7 separate regions of the Homo sapiens genome follow, and regions 1, 3, 4, 5, 6 and 7 are each linked to region 2. Evidence: promoter capture Hi-C in 16 types of primary human blood cells and fetal thymus (Javierre and others, 2016). All regions are on one chromosome and are shown on one strand. The core of a region is centred on a gene start or on the middle of the fragment in contact, and the rest is flanking DNA. Distances in the headings are between cores, read along the strand shown.

The links. Contacts are between HindIII fragments. The CHiCAGO score rates a contact against its expected background, and 5 or more counts as called.
Region 1: a fragment that was not itself captured here is called in contact with the fragment with the promoter of SRFBP1 in region 2 in 1 of 17 cell types (naive CD8 T cells); the score reaches 8.8 in naive CD8 T cells.
Region 3: a contact is called between a fragment that was not itself captured here and the fragment with the promoter of SRFBP1 in region 2, in 1 of 17 cell types (fetal thymus). The highest score is 6.3, in fetal thymus.
Region 4: a fragment that was not itself captured here is called in contact with the fragment with the promoter of SRFBP1 in region 2 in 1 of 17 cell types (non-activated CD4 T cells); the score reaches 6.5 in non-activated CD4 T cells.
Region 5: a fragment that was not itself captured here is called in contact with the fragment with the promoter of SRFBP1 in region 2 in 8 of 17 cell types (total CD8 T cells, non-activated CD4 T cells, naive CD8 T cells and 5 more); the score reaches 13.8 in total CD8 T cells.
Region 6: a fragment that was not itself captured here is called in contact with the fragment with the promoter of SRFBP1 in region 2 in 1 of 17 cell types (monocytes); the score reaches 7.7 in monocytes.
Region 7: a fragment that was not itself captured here is called in contact with the fragment with the promoter of SRFBP1 in region 2 in 1 of 17 cell types (monocytes); the score reaches 9.2 in monocytes.

The regions. Positions count from the first base shown.
Region 1 is chr5:119,445,716-119,448,415 of GRCh38, forward strand. It overlaps the pseudogene RNA5SP190. Among named protein-coding and RNA genes, the nearest start is that of HSD17B4, 5.4 kb to the right of the region's middle. The HindIII fragment of the contact is 3,139 bases long and covers 1-2,700 here.
Region 2 is chr5:121,960,375-121,963,248 of GRCh38, forward strand. It overlaps SRFBP1 (serum response factor binding protein 1), which reads left to right and starts at 1,601. Exons shown (of 8, transcript NM_152546.3): 1 at 1,601-1,694. The coding sequence starts at 1,659. RefSeq lists enhancers at 1,254-1,792, 1,537-1,586. The HindIII fragment of the contact is 3,156 bases long and covers 1-2,874 here.
Region 3 is chr5:119,328,936-119,331,635 of GRCh38, forward strand. It overlaps a transcript of TNFAIP8 not described here. Among named protein-coding and RNA genes, the nearest start is that of TNFAIP8, 26 kb to the right of the region's middle. RefSeq lists enhancers at 1-648, 373-422. The HindIII fragment of the contact is 4,578 bases long and covers 1-2,700 here.
Region 4 is chr5:119,059,211-119,062,120 of GRCh38, forward strand. The region is part of intron 1 of DMXL1-DT (DMXL1 divergent transcript); the gene reads right to left. Among named protein-coding and RNA genes, the nearest start is that of DMXL1-DT, 10 kb to the right of the region's middle. The HindIII fragment of the contact is 714 bases long and covers 923-1,636 here.
Region 5 is chr5:118,988,761-118,991,536 of GRCh38, forward strand. No RefSeq gene overlaps it. Among named protein-coding and RNA genes, the nearest start is that of DTWD2, 1.6 kb to the left of the region's middle. The HindIII fragment of the contact is 1,187 bases long and covers 658-1,844 here.
Region 6 is chr5:119,017,426-119,020,222 of GRCh38, forward strand. DMXL1-DT (DMXL1 divergent transcript) reads right to left here. Exons shown (of 3, transcript NR_134250.1): 2 at 2,652-2,797. Among named protein-coding and RNA genes, the nearest start is that of DTWD2, 30 kb to the left of the region's middle. The HindIII fragment of the contact is 4,389 bases long and covers 1-2,797 here.
Region 7 is chr5:119,273,000-119,275,806 of GRCh38, forward strand. It overlaps a transcript of TNFAIP8 not described here. Among named protein-coding and RNA genes, the nearest start is that of TNFAIP8, 82 kb to the right of the region's middle. RefSeq lists enhancers at 527-616, 737-786, 861-1,360, 1,783-1,832. The HindIII fragment of the contact is 1,298 bases long and covers 602-1,899 here.

The DNA.
Region 1 (2,700 bases), core at 199-2,698, 2.5 Mb before region 2:
GTGGGCAGCCATACCAGCCTGAAAGCACCCAGTCTCATCTGATCTCGGAAGCTAAGCAGGGTAGGCCTGGTTAGTGCTTGGATGGGATTCCGACCGGGAATGCTGGGTGATGTAGGCTTTTGGCTTCCCACTCCCTCCCTCTTTCCCACTTTTGTCGCCGGGCTTACCAACCGCCTCCTGACTCTTCTCCCCCTTTTTCACCCAAAAAGAAGAAAAAGAAAAAAGAAAGAATGGATAAGTAAATACCCCACATTAAATACATTATAATAAACATTTCAAAGAGAAAATTATAAAATGTTCCAGAGATAAAATTGCTCAGTAAAGATGAATAACTATCAGATTATTATCAGACATTTCCATAGCAACACTATAAAGGTAAGAAAGCAATAAAAATTGTTCAAAATTAAAAAAAAAGTTATATGGTAAATTCTTGTCCTAAAATAAATTAACTGGTTGTTTAAAGAAAGGGATGTTTGCAACAAGTCAGAAAGTTGAGGCATGTTGAGGAATTGTCTGTGAAAGTCGTGAAAAAAAAGTTATAAAAGAGAATTTATGCAAGAAATGTTGCATAATTTAATAGTAATTAGGCTTCCTGAGTGTAAAACTATTGAAGAAACACTTTATGTGCAAGGTGTGTAAGAAAAATAAAATATACTTTTGGTTAAAAGATTATAAGGAGGCATAAGAATGTGGATTTTTACCTACATTAAAAGGTTAAAAATATTTTGTTTTAAAGGTTTAAGCAAGTTTTAAAACGTTAATTGTAAAGGAAATTCTATGTGTAAACATATTAGCTAAAGTTAAAGGGGTATCATGCAGTTTTTCCGTGGACTGGACGTTAAAATAAAAGCACAGTGGGTTTTTCTTAAAACACTAACTGCTCTTTAACAAAATTATAAAAGGTTAAATAGAGTCTATGGAAATCTTACCTTATGGTCAGACATTAAAATTTGATAATTATGTCTATAGGGTTTTATTAAAATCAAGTTTAACATTAATAACACACTAATATAAAGGTAAAATTTAGCTTATCTGGTATAAAATCATACAGGAAGCATTGTCAAATGTAAAAGGGTGTTTGGGTTTCTTTGGTCTAACAACTAATAAAAATAGGTGCCAAAGGAAATTTCTCAGCAGGGAGGCACTAAGGACTATAAAGTCCACTGCTGGTGTTCCCAAATTTAAAACAAAAGATCAGTTTCTCAGAAATTATACACTTGGTTTATCTTCCACTTTCCTTTCTCTCAAAACTAAATGTCTTTTAGCACAGGTACCACCCCTAGAATTTCCAGTAAATCAGCACCAGCCTGGGGATCACATTCTTGTCAAAGGGTGGAAAGAAGGAAAATTTGTGCCAGCCTGGGAAGGACCCTACCTAGTGCTGCTAACCACTGAGACTGTTGTTCGTACCGCGGAAGGGGGTTGGACACATCACACCCGAGTCAAGTAAGCGCCGTTATCATCAGAATCATGGGCCATTGTTCCTGGATCAAGCCCTACCAAACTAAAGCTAAGAAAAGTGTAGTCTATCTATCTTTTCCTTTCCTTTCTGAATCCAGTGCCTATAGCCATTACTATTCCTACCACTAGCAACTCTAACCCCACTTTTGAGCATTTTTATGGTTTAGGAGTAGAGGTCACTGGAAAGGATCCTATAGGTTTCTTTAAGATGTGGTTTGTTCTCCCTCCTCCACCTCCTACAACTGCCCCTTTCCCAAACCTATGAAATCAAACTATGCCTCGCCTCATGCCAAATGACAAAAGCAAGGTCTCAGTAGTAGAAATAGAAGACCTAAGGCAAACCATAGCCATTGAAACAGAGTAAAAAGATGTAAATCCCTGGTTAAAATGGATTAAATATTCCGTTCGCACTTGAAACAAAAGCGACTGTTACTGTTGTGTGCACAGTAGGCCAGAGGCCCAGGTTGTTCCCTTTCCACTGGGATGGTCCTCAAATCAACTGGACATGGAGTGCATGGTAGCTCTTTTTCAAGATTCTACCGCCTGGAATAACAAATTGTGCCAAGCTCTTTCTCTGCTATTTCCTGAAGTTCAACACGCTGTGGGTCAGCCCCCAAGGGCCATCCAGCCTCCATCTTCCAAAGCCAATTTTACCTCATGTCTCCAATGACAAGGGGAAAAATTTGGCATTCCCTGGAGACTTAACAGGATGCAGGGAAGTCAGGCACTTCCAAGAGCTGACCCAACAGTCTGCCCTTATTCATCCCTGACTGGTTGTATGGTGGTATTAGGGAGGACCTTTACTGGACACTCTGCCAAATAATTAGAGCAGTACTTATGGTCTAATTCAATTGGTTATCTCTTTTACTCTGGCATTTCATCAACTGGAGGAAGGAAAAATAAGACATCGTAAAGTGAAAGAGGCCCCTTATGGGTCTTTCAACTCTCATGTCTATTTAGACGCAATTGGAGTCCCACTGGGAATACCAGATCAATTTAAAGCCCAAAATCAAATAGCTGCAGGATTTCAGCCAGTATTTTGGTAAGTTACAATTAATAAAAATGTAGGTTTGATAAACTACATTTATTGCAACCAACAGCGATTTATTAACTACCCTAGAGATGCTGTTAAAAGAATAGCTGAGCAATTAGGGGCTACTAGCCAGATGGCTTGGGAAAATAGGATAGCCTGAGACATGATATTAGCAGAAAGAGGAGGAGTTTGCATCATGATTAAAA
Region 2 (2,874 bases), core at 351-2,850:
CAGCAACTGCTGCCACCTTGCTCCAGTGTATACACTCCTACCTGAGTCTTGGGGCAGGGGTCTCAGGCACCTTTGAGGGTCTGCCCTGACAACCTAATGTCTCTGTGCTTTAGGGAGCATCGTATTAAATAGTAAATTAACAAACACCATGATGAGTCAAGAGACGCTATGGAAGAAACTTTTTTTTTTTTTTGAGACGAAGTTTCACTCTTGTTGCCCAGTCTGGAGTGATCTTGGCTCACGGCAACCTCCGCCTCCCAGGTTCAAGTGATTCTCCTGCCTCAGCCTCCCGAGTAGCTGGGATTACAAGCATGCGTCACCACGGTCGGCTAATTTTGTATTTTTAGTAGAGACGGGGTTTCTCCACGTTGGTCAGGCTGGTCTCGAACTCCCGACCTCAGGTGATCCGCCCGCCTAGGCTTCCTAAAGTACTGGGATTACAGGCATGAGCCACCACCCTCCGCCGGAAGAAACGTTTTTCCTGCATTTTGAATAAAGGGGCCTGGATTTTCATTTTGCACTGTACCCCAGGTATTATGTAGCTGGACTTGAAGTCCTGTAGCAGTGGACAGTCCCAGGCAAGTGACTCTGGGCGAGGCACTTGGTGCCTCTGAAGTCACTTTCCACATCTGTAAAATAATAGTTCAGAGCAGAGTAGGGTGGCTCACTCCTGTAGTCCTAGTTATTTGGAAGGCTGAGGTGAGAGGATGGCTTGAGCCCAAGAGTTTGAGGCTGCAGTGAGCTATGACTGTGCCACTGCACACCAGCCTGGATGACAAAGAGAGACTGGGTCTCTAACAAAATAATATTAATAAAAGGAAAATAATTTCTATCTTGTTGGATTTCTGTGGAGATTTGGAGCTAATTTATGTAAAGCTCTTGGACCACCATTTGACACATTTTAATGGTCAATACTAGAAGGTGTTGACAATTATATATTACCTAATTCAAACACACTCCCTTACGTCTCCTATGCTTGCCGGCTAATAAACAGCCATTCCCACAGGCAGTACCAAATGTGTATCCTGGTTTTGCTTCAAATGTTTATTCCCTAAATTTAAACCCTTCTATAGTGTGCAGGAAAAAAATGTCCGCACCTCAGCTATAATGTCAGGTTGTAACAAAAAACTGCGAGGATTTAAAAAGGTGTGCTTGTTAGAAAAGCAGAAATCTTCACAAATACTAGATTTAAAAAAATGGAAGCAAAAAATCGTTCATTCAAGTGATCATTTCAGAAGAGCTCTTTCACCGCCGTTCAGCGCCCCCCTAGCCATTAGAGAGAAAAACCAAGGCCGGTACAATGCGAGCGCAGTGTACCAAGGGAACACACACACACACACACACACACACACACACACACACACACACACACAAACCGAATCTTGAAAAACTAGACGTTGCCCAGCTACCAGCCCCCGTCTGGTTTCCATAGGAACGCGCAATTCCGTTGCGTAGCCCTCTGCGCCGGTAGTTGTTCTGTCTCAGTTCCGGTTTTCCCTTCCAAGCGTCAATGTTTCTTGTTCCCAGGCGGCAGCTAGAGCAGAAGGCGGATGAGTTTTGGACAGAAGAGGCTTCCGTTGAGGGGCGTGGCGACGCAGCCGCGGTCTGAGAGACCGGTTCACGTGCAGGCAGCGGCGGATCATATTCCTTCATCTACCATGGCTCAGCCGGGAACTCTGAACCTCAATAACGAGGTGAGCGCCGAGGAACCTATGGGGCTGACTTTAAGGGTCCTCAAAACCAGCTCTTTTGAGACGCGTGGTCGGAGGCGGGCATAGAGGGTGCGGTTGGAGGAACTTTCGTGGTGGGCCCAGGCGGGTTTCCCGCAACTTGGAGTTTGGCAACCGGTAATTTCCCTTTTCGGTCTCCAGGTGACTAAAGTGAGAGACATGTGTCAGGCCCCACGAATTTATGTCTGTGGGACTTTGGGAAGAACCTTTAGCCTGTACGTTCAATATTCTCGTCTGTAAAGCGGAACTCAAGATAGTTCGTCCCAGGGTTGTGAGATTAACTGAGATACGTAAAGTATTTGCAAGTGCCTGACCCTTAATAAACTTTCAGTACACATTACCTGCTCTTTATTGCCTGTCGAAAATGAAAGAGAGAAAGTAAGAGCTGTAGCTTCTAAGAAATTGGTGGTCTTGAATGAGACTGTATGCTCAGTACTTCGTTTCCTCTTCCAGTTAGTGTCCTATTTCTTTGCTTCCGTTTACAGCAGAACTTCAATAAAGAGCTGTTTATACTTGCTATCCTCAATTCTTTTTTCTGCTTTTTCAGTCCATTCTCATCAGACATTTGTTCTCACCACCGTCACTTCCATAGTGTGCGGTGTCGACAAAATACCATTTCTACCACTTATCCCCCTCTGGTTTCTGCTTCTATTCAACAAAATAATGTCATCCAAAGTCTTAAAGTAAGCTGGAAACATAAGGATCGAGTAAGGACCTCACAGTTAGATACAGAAAGGAAATTCTTTATCCCGTTTATGAGCAAGTCACTGTTTAGATTACACACAGTAGTGTAAGGGATATTTCATATTTTCTAGTAACCTATACTCAAGTAAGAGAGCTAAGCAACACTCACCTGTGTTACAGAACAATGTGTGAAGAATGCCTCCAAAACCTAGTAATGCAGAAAAGTTTCCAAAGGCGGCAAAATGAAATGGGTGATACTTGTCCTTGGTCTTTAGGGATCTTGCACAGGAATTGCAGTCAGTGATTCAGGAAAGGGGAAGAAGTCATTCCAGGCAGAGGGACTGGTATAAGCAGGAAAGGGCTAGTAGCAGAAGAACCCGTGGGTAATACAGGGATAAGTAACTCTTCACTGATGGGAACTTGTGAGATGAAGAAGGAAATAAAACTGAAATATATTCTC
Region 3 (2,700 bases), core at 55-2,554, 2.6 Mb before region 2:
ATATTTATTGCAGCCAGCACTCGGTGTTTCTTTGCTTTCTAAATGCTGATTTAGTGTTTTCATTGGTGCTGCAAGTGTGAAGAGAGACTTGAGCATGAATCATAGGAAGACAGACGTAGATGCTCATTCTGCAGGCCTAGGACCCAGCGAGTGCCGCAGCTGTGCTGCTCACAGCTAGTGGTGGGATTCTGGGCGTGCCTTTCAGCCTCCTTGGATGGCCCTGTTTTCCTCGCTTGTGAAATGAGGTTAGATGGTATCAGCGGTCTTGCCAACACCCAAGTTATCTGATTCTAAGAGAAATTAGAAGATAGTCTTCTTTTTTTGCTTCTAACAACATTTTTACACAATTTATACTTAAAACATAGAAACAAGTACTACATGATAAAAAGGCCTACCTTCCCACACTTACCTTTTGTGCAACCCATTTGGGCAGGCAACGTGAATGGCAGCTGTGGTGATGACAGACCTGAGCAGTCTCTGCCCCTGTGCTGGCCCTCAGCAGCAGCTGTTCACACTGCTTAACTCACTACTCTACCTGGCCTTGTGAGGTCTTTTGCCTTTCTGTTAAATAGAAAGGTGTTCTTCCTATTTTCCACACAGTTTGCTTTTTGTGCTTTCTGTCTGGTGAATCATGGATGCTTTTGCGATATGATATGAAGAGAAAAAAGCCAGCAGATGTAGGCTCATATCCCAGCATTCTGCTGAACAGATATGTTAACTTTATGGAGCTGGGTTTCCACACCTGTAATCCGAGGATAATGACGCCCACCTCCCAGGGTTTTGGCGAGGAGTGAGTGGACCACAGTGAGAGCACCATGCACACTGTGGACATCTCCAGGTGCTTAGCAGCAGGATTTCCCCAGCCTTGTCTAGACATGGACCATGCAAGTCCATGTCCAGACAAGGTTTGGGGAAATCCTGTGCTGTGCAAGGCCTCCTTTATGTGAGAAGTGAGTCTGACCATCCGCCGTCTCTGTTAGGCCATCTGGAAAACGCTTCTGAGCATATTGTTTATCTCAGTCCCTGAGTCTCCTGGAATAATTCCTTCTCAGCCTGCCTTCCTCCCTGCTTCACCAATGACTCTTTCCTCTTTGAAGAAGAGGAGAGAGACAAAGAGGAGTAAGTTGAATAGAGGAGGGGGAAGCTATAATTAGCGCCATGGTTTAGGCACGCCATTGAAAGAGTTAGCATGGGCAGGATTCAGCATACGAGGAGGGTACAGAGAGGACTGATGGGAAGAGAGGAAGGTTGAACAGAAAGAAAATGAAATTAATCTTGGCAGCCATGGCATTAAGCACTAGGGATTAGGGAACGTCCTGGGAATGCCAAAGCATAAAGGCCAAGGTGTTTTGTAGACATTTCCAGTTCTGTCTGAGGCTGTAGAATTAGATGAAATAAACAAATGAAAGTATCTTTTTATGCAGACACAAATGTCATCACTCTTTTGATGATTTTGTTGAATGTGCTTCTGATAAGGATGTGGGTAGCTATAAAGGAAATATTTTTCTTGGGGTATGTGATAAGCAGTTGATGAAACTAGGCCAGCGAGAGCATGTGTGTCTAGAGATTGTTCTGGGAGGGTAGGGGTTAGGCCTCATGGCCTCTCCTCTCAGCCCTGTCCTATTGTGCAGGGTCCTGCTGAATATGCTGCTTAACCTCTCTGCTCTGACACTCGCTTTGGAAACTGGGATTGCCACCCACTTTCGCAGGGTGTGGGGAGAGTGAAATGATGTAAGTGATAGTCTCTTGCTCTGAGATGCCGAGATAACGTGGAGTACACACACACGGAAGGGAAGGATCTCATTTTCTCATGGCCACCATCATGTGTTTGCAGAGAGATAGAGAAGAAGTACCAGATAAGGTGGCCGCAGACTTCCCTAATGACAGCTTATTTGGTATTACTGTGACACTCCAGGCTACCTCCATGACTGCCAATGCCAGTTGCACTCTCAGGGGCTGGGGGTTAGGGGTTAGGGTACAGATTAGCCCTGCGCTTCTGCTGCAGAGTTGTGCCCACCAAGAAAAAGGCCAAGAGCCAACTATATTCCTGAGCACAAATTGCTTTCACGAAGCTAGGCCTGGACAGATTCTTCAGCCACTAGGCCACCAGGCAGGGCTCCTAGGGCTGGAAGTCCTGGCTGCCTCCACTCTCCTCCTTGCCTTGAAGCATGGGTGATGCATCCACATTGGGCAATCATCACAATGTTGATCCCTGAACCTACCTAGAGTGTCTTAATTCACAAGTCCTAGGGAAGCATGGAAGTGCTGTGCATAGTCATATCTACAAAGAGATATTAGCTTTTTTTTTTTTTTTTAAACATAAGGCTATTCTGTAAGGTTTGACTGCTTCACAAATACTTACTTGAGAATCTCCCTGCTCTCTAGCCTATGTCTGTGATGACTCTTCTTTGTTCCCAAATCAAGTAGGATAAGCAGGATGCTAACTGCTGGGACTGGTTTAAACAGCACACTTTGAATAGATCCGGGGATATCTTGGGCATTCTAGTCTCAAGTGAGAGAAAAGGAGTGTCTTAGGGAAATGTCTGTGCAGATGCTTTGCTTTTTGTTCTCCTGTTTTTGGAGAGCTCTCTCCAAAACCAGGAGTTTCCTGCTGGGTGTAGAGGTGCCCACTGGATACATGAGGCTACCATGTCCTCTGCCCTTGCCTGGTGTTGGGACCTTGCTGGTGCCTCCCCGACT
Region 4 (2,910 bases), core at 30-2,529, 2.9 Mb before region 2:
GGCTCAAGGGATCCTCCTGCCTCAGCCTCCTCTGGCATACATAGCTGGGAATATAGGCACATGCTACAACCTAATAATAAATATTTATAAAATATATATTTAATAATAACATATTATAATAATATATATTTAATAATAAATATTTTTTATTTAAGCCACTGCTAGTTGCCTAGTCTGTTATGTACAGCCTAACACATATAATATAAATATTATTTATGCATTTGAATATTTAATATAGCCATCATGTTTGCATTTGTTGATTAGTAAATATATGGTTACACTTCATTTGTTCCCTTTCTGGAATGACTGCTAGAAAGTTGAACAGGTTGTATGGAAACCTTTGGAGCAATCTAATATTTCAATTAAAAAGGAAGAGAGAAACATACAGACTACTACATTCACTCTGTATAGAAACATCATTAAAGAGATCCATAACCAGGAATTGCCATCGTAATATGAATGTGACTTTTAAACCCAATACTTTCCTAATTCTAGTCCATCTCTTACATTCTCTGCTGTTTAAAAATAGCTTTATTGAAAGATAATTCACATACTATACAATTCACAGTTCCTCTTTGAAAAGAATTTGCATCCTACTTTGTAGAATGAAGACTATCAAGTTTAACCTTTCTGACTAGATAGTCTCTATCTCTACATTTACCATGTCCAAGACCAATCCCTCCACCCTTGATTCCTTATCTCCTCTGTGTTTACTCCATCAGGAGTCTTTAGTGTCCTTCCATTTATATAAGGAGCTACTTCTTAGATAGGCCTTTCCAAAGGAGGCATAGCAGTGGGGTGTGACACAAATGGGGTTAGCTAAGGCCTGTGGTCAGACAGTAAGAGGTCTGTGCAGGGCAAGATTACTGACTAGACCCAGGCAGCAGGGCTTGGCAAGTTTAGGAGACCAAACAGGCTTTAAAGCTTCTTTTAAAGGTAGCAATCAAGGTCAGAGAAGCAAAGTAATTAGACTTTTCAAAACAGTAGTCCTGAGCCACTGCTAGAAAGGACTTGTTCTCTGCAGCCTAGGAAGCCACTGCCTTTTTATCTATTGTAGTGTAGGTATTCTCCAGTCAGCACCTTTCCCTGTGAGAGCCTTGTAGATATTAGGGCAATTTAAAAACTTCTTAGTCTCTAAAAAACAACCAAACAAATATATTTAAAAAGAAAGATTGAAGGAAAGGAAAAGAAAGATACTATCTTCATCTATTCAAGAGTTCTCAGTCTCCAGGTCAGATTCAAGCCTCCGATTGAGTCCCTCATGGCAAGCTAATTCTTCAGAGTCTTGTCATTTTCTTCATAGATTTCTTATTTCAGGAACCCGCTTGAGAAAAGGGCAAAAAGTAAGTAAAAGGGCAAAGACAATTTACACAGTGAAGGTCTCCTTATGTCTTCATCATCTAATCTAACATTGATAACCTCCACTTTACCAAAGTACATTTCTGACAGTCACTAATGACTTTCTAAAATCCTAAATCCGATGTTCTCTTAGACTTCAATTCTTTTTACTCTCTGAGCAGCAACCTTTTCCCCCCCCCAGGCACTTCCTAAAATCATTATTCCTCAATGCCCCTCCCATCCACCTGACTGCGTTAGAAGAGTTGAACCCTTGACTACTAATATTGGGTAGTCACTAAGCTTTAGTTCTCAGTTCTCTACTCCACTTTCTTCACCTTCTCCCTTGGAAATCTCCTCCATTCATGACGCTAAACTCTTGACAGAAGATAGCTCTTGGTTTTGTATTACCTGCTCTGACAGCATTCCTGAGCCCCAATCCCATCTTCCCAACTATCTTCTGTAATAGACGCCCCATGATTACTTCAACTTCTAATGCTGAAATTAGTCTTAGCCTTACCTACCCAAAATGGCTTATCCTACTATTTTCTCCCTATCTTACTACATTAGTAAAATACCATTTCCTTAGTCATCCAACCCTGCTAATTAGTGGCTAGTTTCCACTACTACTTTTCTTTTCTCTCTCTTTTTTTTTTTTTTTTTTTGAGATGGAGTTTCACTCCTGTTGCCCAGGCTGGAGTGGAATGGCACGATCTTGGCTCACTGCAACCTCTGCCTCCCGGATTCAAGTGATTCTCCTGCCTCAGCCTCCAGAGTAACTGGGATTACAGGTGCCTGCACCATGCCCTGCTAATTTTTGTATTTTTAGTAGAGACAGGGTTTCACCATGTTGGCTAGGCTGGTCTCAAATTCCTGACCTCAGGTGATCCACCCACCTTGGCCTCCCAAAGTGCTGGGATTACAGGTATGAGCCACCGCGCCCAGCTTCCATTACTTTTCTAAAAGAAATCTTCAAAATGTTTTCCCTCTTTTTTTTCCAGGATAAAAACCTTTTCTAGAAAAAATATTAAGCAAACAAATGTAATATGTCAGACACCAGACTGCATTATCTATAATAAAAAATTAGAAATATGTAAAACTACCATCATATATTTTAACATTTCGTTTTTTAAAAATAGAGATGAGGTCTCTCTCTATGTTGCCCAGGCTGGTCTTGAACTCCTGGTCTCAAGCTATCCTGCCTTGCCCTTCCAAATTGCTGGGATTATAGGCATGGGCCACTCTGCTTGGTCAAAATATTTCATTTTAAAGAACACAAGCTTGAGGGTGAGATTTTTTTTCTTCCCAGAAATATATATATAGTAGAGCAAAAATTACTTTTTCACTTACAGCAAAAGATGTTTCTTTTATCTACCTTTAGTTCTTTAGATTTAGAGAGCAAAAGACCCTACTTACTAAAAATCCATTATTGTTTAATTAAAGCAGTATGTGCAAACCTGGAGCTTTCTCTCTTTGGATGCTTTAAATCCAGGAATTATAACCAAAAGCCTCTGCACAGAGAATATGGAAGTGTTCTTCTAGAATACAGGGAAAGGTATTGTGGATATTTGCATT
Region 5 (2,776 bases), core at 1-2,500, 3.0 Mb before region 2:
GTTAAGTAGCGTCATTGGGAGAGGTAAGGGAAACCTCCCCGAGAGGACCCCAGTACCAAGCCCGAATTTAACTCCTTTAAAAGTTAAAATAAAATGGAATTCTGCATTTTCCGCCTTGGGATGGCAGTTTAAGAATTTGCAGGATTTCCACGCGTGCATGCATCGCAGGTGCGGCAGCTGATGCACTTATTATTTAAAGGCCAACAAAGGAGAGGTTATATCCACTGGGAACTACTCACAGCTGGTCCGTTTCCTTATGTGAATTTCCTGCTCTTCTATGTCTTGTGCTAATAAGACATCAAGCATGCTATTTTACACTGGACACCAGATATTTGTTAAATTAGATTTTTAGATCGTCCCCGATCAGGAAGCAATAGGAGAGCTGGCCCGGGGTACCAATAGGTTTTATGTATGAGGAAACAAGCCCTAGAAAGGTAACGTTGCCCAGGTATTTAACAACTACTGGATACGGCGGTATATAGCACAGCAGCTGTTTTTTAAAAGCCAAAATGAAATCTATGTTAGAATGAAGGCAGAAATACTATTTACCCAAAATGGGTATCGAATTCCTTTTGTTTATTAATGCTTTGTGTTACTTCCAGCAATACACAACATTAAAACAGAATTAAGCTTGGTTTTGATCAATCATGTGAATTAAGCTTAGGAATCACAGTTGTCTTAACTCTATAGTTGTAATAGATTAAATGTGAGGCAAAGTAGACAACACAGTAATAGAGCAAATACTGTATTTCTTAAAATGTTTATTTCACATTAGATTTTTCAGTCATCTTAAAATCAAGTTTGTGAATAAAATACCGTGCTGTTTTCAACTATCCTACGTTCTTTCCCCCCGGAAACAGCACCTCTCTTTTCCTTTGGAGCGTCCTATGTGAGGGATAGAAAAAGGCTGAAACACCCACCTGGTGATGGACGTAGAGTGGGAGAAAGAACTAGCAATTATGCCATTTGGAATCGGAGGATAAACAAAATCCAGAAACTGTAGGAAAGGAGATGAATCAGAAAATTCATCTTGTCTGTAGATTTAGGTTGGGGAACCAATTCTTTAACTGCCAAAATTAAATTCTCATGTGACTTATCTTTAAACGAAAGGAAGCTGCTCATCTTTAATTTCAAGAGGTGAAATGTGCTCAAGTCCTCTAAGGTCCCTTGAGACTCCCAATTGTGTGGTGTGAGAAGACAGATGATAAGGAAAAAAAAAAAAACTTTTTATCTAAGGAATGCGAGCAGTCATGTCTCACTCTCCCTTGAGCTAAATAATTACCTCTTGAAGGCACTTGCTATGCAGGCCCTAGACTGACACCGAGTAGCCATAAAACGCCGTATACCCTATAGTTCAACAATATGTATAGCCAATCACTAACCAATGTTATTTCTGTAAATAAATGACACTTCCTGAGACATAGCTTTTGTAATGCCCCCCTCTGCTGATTCGTTCTCTTTTCTTTAAAAACTCCAGCCCATTTTGTTCTCCAGAGCACTCTCCACAGCAACCTGGAAGTACGACCTAGGCTACAGTCCTCAACGTTGGCCCAAATAAACTCTCTATATTAATTTTGCCTCTGCTCCTTCCTTTTAGGTTGATGTGAGCCTACTTACTTGGGGCTTCCTTTTAACACCCCATATCAGATTATTGGCTTTACCCTTCAAAGTATTCAAAATCCAAACATTTATCTCACCTACTACTTCTGCCCTGGTTCAAGCCCCCGTCATCTCTTGCATAGAATATTGCCAAAGACCTAAGTGGTCTCCTGCTCCATCTCCGCTCCTTATGAAGAAAATCCCCTACAAGTCCATTGTCTCAGAGGCTGACCAAAATCAAAGAAAGCTTCCATCCAGGCAAGACACAGAGTTGAGAAAGGAGAGCCATTTTCCTCTATAGGAAGCAAGAAATTCACCCAATATCCAGGTTTGTGAACAATGACCTTCAGACGCCTGAGGAAACATGCAGGTGAGGTTACCACCTTGGGGCAGACCCAGGTATCAGACCATCAGTGACTCAGCTTCTGGGAAGTGCCAAGACACCAGAAAGGGAAGTAAAATATCCTTTATGGGATACAGACAACTTACTAGTGTCAAGATAATGTATTGAGGTGTTAATGTATGTTTTGTTTATCTCCCAACTTCAGGTAGAAAACCAGACTTTTATGCTCCTTTGCCTCAGAGGAGTTTGGGTAGTAAAGACTGAGGACAATCTTAGGTCCACGCCTGGTGTTGTGGGAAAAGGAGATCCTGTTACTGGTAGAGGAAAGGGCCTCAGTAATGTAAGGGATTGAATATCCTGCCAGGCCTGCAGTATGAGGATTCAGCATTGTATAAGATTTGATTTAAATGAAATAAAAACATGGTATTTTTTGCTATATTCATTTTCTATCACTGTGGAACTAATAACCACAAATTTAGTGGCTTTTTCCTTTGTTTTTTTTTTTTTTTTTGAGATGGAGTCTCGCTCTGCCGCCCAGGCTGGAGAGTAGTGGCGTGATCTGGGCTCACTGCGACCTCCGCCTCCCGGGTTCAAGCAATTCTGCCTCAGCCTCCCGAGTAGCTGGGACTACAGGCTGCGTGCCACCATGTCAGGCCAGTTCTTTTTTTTTTTTTTTTTTTTTTTTTTTTGAGACGGAGTCTCGCTCTGTTGCCCAGGTCGGACTGCGGACTGCAGTGGCGCAATCTCGGCTCACTGCAAGCTCCGCTTCCCGGGTTCACGCCATTCTCCTGCCTCAGCCTCCCGAGTAGCTGGGACTACAGGCGCCCGCCACCG
Region 6 (2,797 bases), core at 225-2,724, 2.9 Mb before region 2:
GAAAGAGTCAGGGATAAAAACAAAGATTTTAAATAAATGGTAACATTATTCAAAGTGACTTTGATTTTTTTAAAAAACAGGCATTCAAGTGTACCTTAGAAATACCTACTGTTTGCCTGATTTCAGAAGGGCAGCAAATAAAATGAGCCATCATTTTCCTATATATAGGCTTTACTAAAGCTAGAATAGCTCCATGAGATCTTTTCAAATCCCTTTGATTGTACTGTAAACTTCTAACAGATCTGGAACACAAAAATGACCATTGGTTCTTCTATAAACATCTGTTTTCAGAGCCGGGTGTGGCGGTGCCTGCCTGTAATCCCAGGACTTTGGGAGGTGATGGAGGAGGGTCACTTGAGGCTGGGAGTTCGAGACTAGCCTGGGCAACTCAGCAAAACCCTGTCTCTACAAAAACTAAAAAATAAGCTGGGCGCGGTGGCTCACACCTGTTGTACCAGCTACTCAGGAGGCTGAGGCAGGAGGATTGCTTGAGCCTAGGAGGTCGAGGCTGCAATAAGCCAAGATTGTGCCACCATACTCCAGCCTGGGTGATAGAGTGAGACCCTGTCTCATAAAAGAAAAAGAAGAACGTCTGTTTTTAGTTTACTGTTTGTGGGGGTGGGAGTTGGTGGACAAAGGAATGGAGAACAAATAGGGGAAAATCAAGTAATTCTCAAAACAAAAGTAAATCATTGAAATAGTATATGTATGAGTTAACAGAAATGAGTCAGAATTCTAAAATAAATATCCTTTGAATTTCATTATACCAACCTAGAAATTCCTGCAAATATGAATATGATATAGCCTTGCCACTGACGTACCCCTTTCAATAGTCTGAAATAGAGCAGCATTATGTTGAATTCCATGCTGTAGCAAATGGTACTATAGCAAAGCCCTGGTGTTATTTCTGAAATTATAACTTTGCAATTTGTAAAGTCCTTTTACCAACACTATTTAATTTTGTACTTCCCTACAGCCTTAAAATATAAATAAGATATGTATTATCATCTGTATCTGATAGATGAAGAAAATGACAGCCTCTGAAAAATGAAATGGCTTGCCTAAAGTAACATGGCAATTTTAAGTGAAAAGACTATATTTAGAAGCCAGATCTTCTAATTCCTGGCCAACTGCTCTTTCTGTGACATCATAAAGCCTCTTTCATCCTTCCCACATTGTTGAGTGTAGTTATTTACTAGCAGTTTCCCAAATTTTATGAGGTACAAAATCAAAATAACGTAGAGTAAAAAGAATGACTGACATGACATTACATCAGAAATAGCTAAGATTAAAGTTTATATTTCCTGAGTCACTATTTCTTAACTAATCCATTAAATATTCACGGACGACTCAGCTATAGATGTTTACCATTGTTTTTTTTTGGCAATAACTATGTAATACCTTGAGCTAAAACTATGGGGAAAATATACCTGGCATTCCCAGCACTTTGGGAGGCCGAGATGGGTGGATCACCTGAGGTTGGGAGTTCAAGACCAGCCTGACCAACATGAGAAATTTCGTCTCTACTAAAAATACAAAATTAGCCGGGCGTGGTGGCACATGCCTGTAATCCCAGCTTCTCGGGAGGCTGAGGCAGGAGAATCGCTTGAACCCCAGAGGCGGAGGTTGCAGTGAGCCATTGCACTCCAGCCTGGGCATCAAGAGTGAAACTCCATCTCAAAAAAAAAAAAAGAAAAGAAAAGAAAACGAAAAAGAAAAAGAAAGAATGCTTGGGCCAAGGGCGGTGGCTCATACCTGTAATCCCAGCACTTTGGGAAGCTGAGGTAGGTGGATCACCTGAGGTCTGGAGTTCAAGACAAGCCTGGCCAACATGGCGAAACTCCTTCTCTACTAAAAATACAAAAATTAGTCAGGTGTGCTGGCGCACACCTGTAATCCCAGCTACTCAGGAGGCTGAGGCAGGAGAATCACTTGAACCCGGGAGGCGGAGGTTGCAATGAACTGAGATTGTGCCACTGCACTCCAGCCTGGGCGACAGAGTGAGACTCCATCAAAAGAAAAAAAAAAGAATGCTTATAATTCCATTTCCCACTAATTTTACTATATTTTTCCAAGTTTCCAAAGAGATAATGGTTATATTATACAAGCAACATAAATGTTTTTAAAACCTTTTTGCAGGAGGAAGTTTAAAAATCACAAAATTGCTAAAGCAGATGTGGCAATTACCAAAAAAACAAAAAAAAAAAGAGGAAGTTTAAAGAAAAACTAAATATAGAAATAATGTTAGACTATTAGATGTTAGAATGCATGAGTGGAGTTATTGTGGCAGCCACATATGGGAAATCTTAGATTTTACATTTTGGGACATGTTCTGCACAATACCTCTATTCACTGAAAATGCCATTATATGAGCGTATGATGGATGATTGATTTTGTTTATTTTAGGAGAGATGTGAGTGTAGTTTAACAAAAGCCCAGAGAATAGTAAGTTGAAATGTTTCTCTTCTAGATATCATGTTTCTCTTCTAAAATACTCTTTTTTGTTAAAAAAATCATTTATTCTTATATTCATATAATAGCTTTTGAATACAAGCTCCAAAATTAAAATTAAATACGGTAACAAGTCAGCTGACCACAGTTAATTTTGCCCCAAGTCATATAATTACAGTCTCAATTGACTCGTTATTTACCCTTAGAAAGTCACTCCAAGCTGGCTGTGGTGATTCGTGACTGTAGTCCCAAGTACTTGGAAGTCTGAGGCAGAAGGATCATGTGAGTCCAGAAGTTGGAAGCTGCGGTGAGCTGTGATTGTGGCACTGTACGCCAGCATGCACGA
Region 7 (2,807 bases), core at 1-2,500, 2.7 Mb before region 2:
ATTAAGTTCAAAATTCCACTTGTAGTTTCCTTAAACATTGGGAATAAAGATGACTTTAGTCAAGAAGTAGTTGGTCCAAATGACTTTGCTGGAATCAGCAGCTCATGTCTCAGCCCCTGCTGGCTGTGTGGCTTTGGACAATCTACTTAGCTCTCTGAGCCTGTTTCTTCACCAGAGTAAAAACTGGGGATAGTATTTATATTATAGGATTGTTGTGCAGATTAAGCCAGATGTTCCTCTCCTGTATCAGTGTGCAGAAGGCACCCATTAAGTGGAGGACTTAGTTAGATTGGCCAAATAGGTCTCATTCCAGTAAGTGTTAGTACTGAGCCACAGTGGAGTAGAGAGGGAAAGTAGTAACTTGTGTCATATGTGATTTTAGCATGAATTCTTTTTTCCTTTAACAATGCCAGAGGAGCCCAGAGAATGGGGTGAATGTAGCACAACTTCAGTGATTGCTAGCTGCAGGGTCACATGATTATATAAGGGAAATGTCACCGCTGCTGCCAAAGATAAGTGAGCCAGAGCAGGGCATTCGAGTTTTATGTGCCTGAGAACGAAGACGAGCCATAGTACCCATTAAGCTTCTCTGCATGAGGGAAGCTTTCAAAAGACCTATTACAGTTAAATTGTGAGCAGTGGGTTGGCCTTTCACAACTCCCATGTTTAAAACAGGTAGTGAATGAAACCAGATTATTTAAGACAGACAGCTGCCCTTGGTGTTGCAAAGGGAATCGGGCTGGCATGTCTTCAGGGGAAGTTGCGTGAGGTCCGGGAGGCCCAGGGCAGGGACCGCATCTGCAGGATTAGGCACCGGGGCAAGGTCTTTTGGGAACACAGTACTCAGCAAGGCACACAGTAGACTCTTGGATATTTTAAAGGAGCCAAAAAGTAAGCAACAGCTCACTCTGTCAATACCCTCTCTAAGCCTGGCTCTTACTCCTTCAACCCAAATTCATTTAGCTCAAGCCTTCCTCATTCCTAACTCTTATTTATTACTCTTATTTATCATTTGTTTAACAAAATGAGGTTTTTTGTTTGTTTGTTTGTTTGGTTTTACAACATGGCTGTCAACAAAAATAGGGGAGACAGAGATTGTGGTGTGTGCTATGTAGACCTAACTACACTCGTCTTTCCTGTCCTGAGCTCTCTTCTGACTGTGTTCAGACCCTCACACACATGCAGACACGAAAAAAAATGCCAGTCTTCTGAGAAAAAAATGCATGGACAGTGTTGGCAACAGTGCAAGTTTCAGAACAAACTTTGGTCACGTAAATCTTTGGGAAGTAAGTCCAGTACCTCATTCCATCATTCTGTGGTCAGGAAACTACTCTTTTATTTTTCCTTCTTCACTCTTTAAAGGGTTGAGATTGTTTTCTGGAAAATGGCAGGTGTTTGGTTAAATACTGTTTTGCTACACTTGAAGGGCAGAGCAGTCCTCACTTAGTGATGGAATTCCTTTTGCCTTGAGGCAGAATTAGGCTGCTAGTGACTCATGAGGTATACCTGGAAGAGGTGAGTGAACTCAGGCCTTCCCAACATCCGGTGATGACCTCTGTTTGCACACACGTAGCCACTTTGCTCCTTTGCTTTTATGACCTGGAATGACTGATAGTGCCTGAAGGAACAGGCTGCTATTACTTTTCAAGGTAAGAGACCCTGTGTAAATAGGGAGCCTCCTGAGGAAGCAAGGATTCCCTGCCCTGTGTACCTGTGGTGCTTATCACCTCCCTGGCAGGGAAGCTCTGCCCAGGTAGGGTAGTTTGAGAACATCATTATCTGGGCAGCTACAAAAGTGATACACCAAATGAAACTTTGAACTTATCCAATGTGCTGTATTTTAGGGCTCATCTGGGACTATTCCTGTGAACCTGACTGTTAAGTCAGAATCACCAGTGAAGCTTGATGCAAATTGAGAACCCCTAGCCTGGGAGACTTATGTGACTCATTTTCCTGTCTTGTTCTAGAAAGAAGCTTATTCAGGCAGCAGCTAGCTGTAGGGATTTTTTTTTAATTTTTTTTTTTTTTTTGGCAGTGGAAAGAGCTCTTGAAAGTACAGAGTGGCTTTAAAGTTTAAAGAAGATTAAAATGAACACAACATATAAAATAAACACAACATATAAAATGAACACCTATGTACCCATCTTAAGAAATAACAAAGTTGTTTTTATAGGTCTTCACTGGGTGGAAAAATATTAACAAGCAACCAGGTCAAGAACAAAAAATAACAACCAAAACAATTAGTGGTGTCCCACAAATAGATCCAGAAATTGAAGGCCATGAAACAGAGACATTGGAGAGTCTGCCCAGTGTTCATTAGTTGAAAATCTAGACTTGAGTCACCAACAATGCTGACATCATAAATCCAGTATGCCAGCTGACTTAAGGATAACTCAGGTGGTTTGTAGATACTGAACTGGGATGGGCATCCTTATTTCAACAGCGGCGCATGTTTGGAAGAGCACGGGCCCAACTCAGGACTCGGAGTTGCCAAGCGGACCGTTTCCCCTAACCCAGGCCTGTTTCCTGTCCTGAGGTCCTGGTACCTCCAGGAATCTATTCTGTTCTCAGAGTGTCCCTCTCATTTTGTAATGGTAGAAAATGAGAAAATGAAAAACAGACCATTTTTTTCTTTGAAGCCATGTTCTGTAACTTCCTCCTGCTTCTTTTGCATTTTGGGTTTTGCCAGTACTTGAGACTTCCCTTTTTCTGAATTTTAGTCAGTTTTTAATTTATCATTCTAATAGGGGCCATGGAAATTAGAATAATAAAGGTTTGCTACTGATCATAACATAGTATTAATTTTA